Regions from separate parts of the Homo sapiens genome. Here region 2 is linked to region 1. The links are contacts of gene promoters, found by promoter capture Hi-C in blood cells and fetal thymus (Javierre and others, 2016). All regions are on one chromosome and are shown on one strand. Each heading gives the region's core, a stretch centred on a gene start or on the middle of the fragment in contact. The rest is flanking DNA. Distances are from core to core; before and after follow the strand shown. Region 1 holds the start of DPH2 (diphthamide biosynthesis 2). Region 2 overlaps PTPRF (protein tyrosine phosphatase receptor type F).

Region 1 (2,700 bases), core at 162-2,661:
TCACCTAGGCTGCCTCTCAGGTACCCCAGGCTTCTCCTCAGTAAGATCTGAAGAGCAGAATGAGTTCTCCCCACTTTTACCCTTGAGCTTTCAATCTCCTTGTGGGTGATGGGGAACTCGTTACTCCCACATTCATCCCACTCCTTCCCTGTTCAATAGATCCGGGTTTGATGCTGGTTGTGCCACAGAATTAGTGTCTTATTACACAAGTAGTCTCTTTGAACCTCAGTTTCCGTATCTGACAGAGGTATGTAAGGAGGGCATTTCAAGTGATGTTGCATGTGGGGGTGTTTGCATATAAGTAAACATGGGGAGTAGAGGGGATGTGAGGGGCTGGAGGGTAGAGGTCTATGTGGTATGCACTGGGGGTATTGCTGGGAAGCAGCAGTGTTTGAGGATGGCTGGAGCTGTGCAGAGCATCTCCTGTGACTTGAGGATGTGCCAGTCATGTCCTTGGTACCACTCGGGATAATTCTTACTCCAAAGACTGTAAACACTAAAAATGAAGTGCCTAATGTACAGTAAGTGCTCAGTATTTGGCTGATTAAATAGCAAATGCTTTCACTGCATGCGATATCCAAAGAACTACTTTGTAAAGTTTTGTATATAAATTAATTAGACCCTCACAACAATCTTATTAAGAGGTACTATTGTCACAACTCCCCATTCTTCAGATAAGGAAATGGGCATAGGGACATTCCTAAGATACTCAGTAGCAAGTGACCAAGCACAATATTCAAACCCGAGCCGGTCGGCACCAAGTTTAAAATTATGCAGTGTAGCCGGGCACGGTGGCTCACGTCTGTACTCTCAGCATTTTGGGAGGCCGAGATGAGTGGATTGCTTGAGTTCAGGAGTTTGTGACCAGTCTGAGCAACATGGCAAAAACCTGTCTCTACAAAAAATACAAAAATTAGCTGGATGTGGTGGTGCGCCTGTAGCCCCAACTACTCAAGAGGCAGAGGTGGGAGGATGGCTTCAGTCCAGGAGGTGAAGGTTGTGGAGATCGCGCCACTGCACTCCAGTCCAAGCAACATAGCGAGACCTTGTCAAAAAAAAAAAAAAATGAATGAATGAAAGAATTATGCAGTGATACTGCCCAGAGGATAGAGTGCACGTGAAATGCTTAACAGTGAAGTCGGTGTTCCTGATGGCCGCGGGTCGGCTGAACCGGACTCCCAGCGCCCGAGAGGAGGCCAGGGGAACTACAATGCCCACAAGGCTCCGCGCCTTCCTCGATGTACTTCCGGCTGGCCTGGGACTCAGGCTGAACATTGGTTCTCTGTGCGGGGCGGTGGCGGGGATTGGAGGGCGGGAGCTGTGCTGACTTAGGATTGGCAAAATCGCTATCAGCCACGCCTCTAAAACCCGGAAGTAACCTCCCCGGTAGTCCCACGTGTAGCGGAGAAACAGTAGTTAGGATGGCTGAAGGGGATACTCACCGGCTGAAGGCCGACTGTGATTCCCCCTACCCCCACAAGGCGATTTTGACCCCCTGAGGGCTGCTCTAGAGGACTCAGGCCCCGAAGCTGTCCCAGGGAGGTCCCCGCTGCATCCCACCACCCAAGCTGTGCCTCATGGAGTCGATGTTTAGCAGCCCTGCCGAGGCGGCGCTGCAGCGAGAGACCGGGGTGCCAGGACTGCTTACTCCTCTTCCGGACCTGGACGGAGTGTACGAGCTGGAGCGAGTCGCTGGATTTGTCCGCGACCTGGGGTGTGAACGAGTGAGGACAGACTTAGGGAAGGGTGGCTCGCCTCTGTCGGGATGGGTCGCCCAGAGGATCCGGATCTTGGGGGATTTTGTGAGGGCGAGAGGGTGGGGGAATCAGTCTGTCCGCAGCGCGTTGACCATCCCTCCCTTCCACCTACTACGTGGGGCAGAGTGCCCCTCTGGGACCAGGGGCTTTGAAGGTTGAGTGGGAGCTCCTGGAAGATTGCTTTAAAGAAGCCCTCAGTGGGAGAGAGGCTGTCCCTGACTCCATGGTTTATGCTTATAGGTTGCCTTGCAGTTCCCTGACCAGCTATTGGGAGATGCTGTGGCTGTGGCTGCACGACTGGAGGAGACGACAGGGTCAAAGATGTTCATTCTGGGTGACACAGCCTACGGCAGGTGTGAACTTGGCCTTAGGTGGGCCAGGCCTGGGGATCCGGGGCTCATGGGGTTTTACGTCTATGACAGTGATTGCCTTCAATGGTGGTGTTTCTCCTTGATGATAATGGTAATGACTCCCCTTCTGATGCTAGCTCCTTTCATTGACAATGTCTTCCTTTAATGAAACCATTTTATTCACTGACCACATTTCCCAGTGATGACAGCAACTCGCCTCCAGAAGAGAACCCATTTCTCTGATGCTATCTTCCCTGCAGCTGCTGCGTGGATGTGCTGGGTGCTGAGCAAGCTGGAGCTCAGGCTCTCATACATTTTGGCCCTGCCTGCTTAAGCCCTCCAGCCCGCCCACTGCCCGTTGCCTTCGTGCTTCGTCAACGTTCTGTGGCCTTGGAGCTCTGTGTCAAGGCCTTTGAGGCCCAGAACCCAGACCCCAAAGCGCCTGTGGTGCTGCTGAGTGAGCCGGCCTGTGCCCATGCCCTGGGTAAGGGGTTTTGCCTGTGTATGCACAAAGGGTGAGCCAACTGCTTTATGCCTTAATTTCCCCATTTCCATATACCATCCATAGAACTCTTGATATGGGCTTGGCCCCA
Region 2 (2,787 bases), core at 45-2,544, 440 kb before region 1:
CCTCTTTCTTTCCTTTAACAAGAAAATTGTTTTAACATAATTCCTTCCTTCCTTCCTCCCTTTCTTCCTTCTTCTTGCAACTACTGATACCTCCCCTTTATCCAGCTTTGTGTGCCCTGGGCGGGTTGGCTTGGTGTACAAGGCTGCCAAGAGAGGAGGGGGTGGTTGGGTGTTGGTGAAGGAATTTGGCGGGGCAGAGTTAGACTGCAGCAAACGGAAACTAGCTACACATCTTTTACTGGGAAGTGTATGGATACGCAGCAAAATACTAGCCCTGGCAGTTTGGGCACAGTCCACCCTTTTTTCCATCAGCCTGAACTATGGGAGTCTAGCTTTGAGGGTCCTCCCTGGGGGCGGGGAGGAGGGGACCCAGACCTCCTGCAGTAGAGGGGTTGTGATACACACCACGGCTCCTCCACTTTCCAGCTTCAGGCCTCAAAGAGGCCCCTTTCTCCCTGAGTCTCAATTTCACTCCCTGTAAAATGGGGTAGCTAATCCAACCCGGACTGGGTCCCAGGGCTGTTGTAAGAATCCAAGGGAACTGTGTGGCAGTGCATCGTCAGCAGTGGCAGTCACTTCCCTTGTGACTGACACTGCTGTGTGCTTGGTTCCAGCTTGCAGTCAGGGCCCTACCCTCGAGAAGCTCGTGGTCCTTGGGGGAGCAGGTTGCACCATGGGATTGCAAAAGCAATTCAGTTACCTGTCATTGATTGCTGACTGTGTGCCAGACCCCGGGGTAGGCGCTTTCGGCCCCGGCTGCCTTTCTTCCTTTGGGACTAACAGCTATGTAGAAGAGGCAGCCCACCCCTAAGGTTCAGGCATCTGCTCAACTAAAGCAGCTGCGGTTCTGAGTTGGGTTAGAACATTGCAAGAGTTCATCAAGAGACGGGGGAGAGTTCGGAGGTCAGGGTGAGGTGAGTCCCAGAGGAGACCAAGAAGAAGTGATGTGAACTAGGTTTGGAGGGATGAGTAGGAGTTTGAAGAAGAGAGAAAGGACTTGAGATAGATAAAAACCAGTATGAATAAAGACTGGGAGGTGTTGTCACTTGTGAAGTATTCAGAGATGTGGCAGATCACAGAGGGCATTGAATGCCCTGTTAAGTACCTGTAATTTTACTCTGAGAACCCAGAGAGAAAACACCAAAGGTTTAAAGCTTGGATAGGGAGGGTGGAGTGTGCTGTGGTCAGGTTTATGTTTCCAGAAAATGCTCTGTGGCTATGGGAAAAGGATGGAGACAGGATGCCCAGTGGGGCAAGAGGGTGCAGGTAAGTAAGGTGAGAGAAGATGCTGGCTTTGATAGGTGGTAGCATGGTGCCATCTTGAAGGTACACTTGTCAGGACAGAATGATTTATTGGATGTGGGAGTGAAGGAGAGGAAGAGGAAGGAGTCCAGGTTCCTCGGAGTGGTTGAGCGGGCCTTCACTGAAGGCCCTGAAGCTTCACTGTGTTAGGGACTTGGTGAGGAGGGGCAGAGAATAAGCTCTTAGTTGGACATGTGGCCCTTGAGGTACTTGGGACATTGGAGGCTCAGTGGGGGAGGCACATCAAGGAGGGGCTTTGGTGTGAGGGTATGGGAGAGAAATGTCGGTCGGACCAAGAGAAGCGAGAGCTGTATGAGAGACCATAGAGCTGTGCACCTCGAGAGAAAGTAACCTCCGACAGTGGTGAAGAGCTCGAGTTTTATACTGCTAGGATTGGACTCTGTTTACTAGCAGCGTGACTTTAAGCAAGTGGCTTAACCTCTCTGAATCCGCTTCCTCATTTGTCAAATGATTATAATAAAAACCCGTGCCTTATAAGGGTTGTTATGAGGATTAAAGATAGTATGCATAAAGTGTGTGTAGCACAGGGCTTGGCATCTAGTGAGTACTGTTGTCTGTGTTTGCAGTTACTGTAATCATCCTCAACTGGGATGGTGTAAACCCACCCTCCCATCAGGGGTCACATGAGGTTGCCTTTAATGAGAAGATAGACTGCTAAGGTTAGGGTCCCTGTCTGCCTAAGGTTGCTGCAATTCTGAGCTGAGATTAGCAGGTCAAGGAGCTCAACAAAGGGGGTGCCTGCCCCTATTGTTATCGATGGGATTGTTTGTGTTGCTCAGGTGTTTGACCTTCAGGTGGGTGGGCTTGAGAAGACTAGAGGTGAGGCCTGCAGAAGAGACTCCATGTTTGGGGTAGGTGGAAGGGAATTTTGAGAAGGGGCAGCCTTGGGGTATTGAGTTCTCCATTTCCTCCCACCCTCCCTGGGCCCTGGGCTTCTACTGAGGCTCTTTCTGCCACCATCTGCCTCTGTGGTCCAGATGCACCATGTCTCTGTGTGACCGTGACTTCTAGGTCTGAGAACTCTGGTTTTAGCTCCTTAGCAGTATTTTAGCTGCTGTTTCTGGGGACTGTTCCTGGTGCAGCCACAGGGGCATTCTGGGGGTTGCTCCAGAGGGCAGCTGTGCCTGCATTCCCCTAGGTATCATCGACTTGCTCCTGACCCACTGCCGGGCCAGGTTTCAGGCCTGGCAGATGATGGGGAACCCTACTGGGGCCAGCCCTGCGTTGGCCCCAAGGGCTTTCTTTCTTGATATTGGACATGACTGTGGACTTCACCCCTTCTGAGGCCTTCCTGGGTGCCAAGCAGTGTGATTTCTTTCTTTTTCTCTTTGGTTTGAAACAGAATCTCACTCTGTTGCCCAGGCTGGAGTGTAGTGGTGCAGTCGTGGCTCACTGCAGCCTCCACCTCCTGGGCTCAAGTGATCCTCCCACCTCAGCCTCCTGAGTAACTGAGACTACAGGTGT

Evidence for each region. The method cuts DNA at HindIII sites, captures the fragments that hold promoters and counts their contacts. A CHiCAGO score of 5 or more calls a contact.
Region 2: a fragment that was not itself captured here is called in contact with the fragment with the promoter of DPH2 in region 1 in 1 of 17 cell types (total CD8 T cells); the score reaches 5.3 in total CD8 T cells.

The regions. Positions count from the first base shown.
Region 1 is chr1:43,968,599-43,971,298 of GRCh38, forward strand. DPH2 (diphthamide biosynthesis 2) reads left to right here and starts at 1,412. Exons shown (of 6, transcript NM_001384.5): 1 at 1,412-1,724; 2 at 1,998-2,110; 3 at 2,368-2,591. The coding sequence starts at 1,578. RefSeq lists enhancers at 1,443-1,722, 2,208-2,700. The HindIII fragment of the contact is 12,483 bases long and covers 1-2,700 here.
Region 2 is chr1:43,533,135-43,535,921 of GRCh38, forward strand. All of the region lies in intron 1 of PTPRF (protein tyrosine phosphatase receptor type F), which reads left to right. Among named protein-coding and RNA genes, the nearest start is that of PTPRF, 3.6 kb to the left of the region's middle. RefSeq lists enhancers at 1-297, 298-797, 1,744-2,606. The HindIII fragment of the contact is 284 bases long and covers 1,153-1,436 here.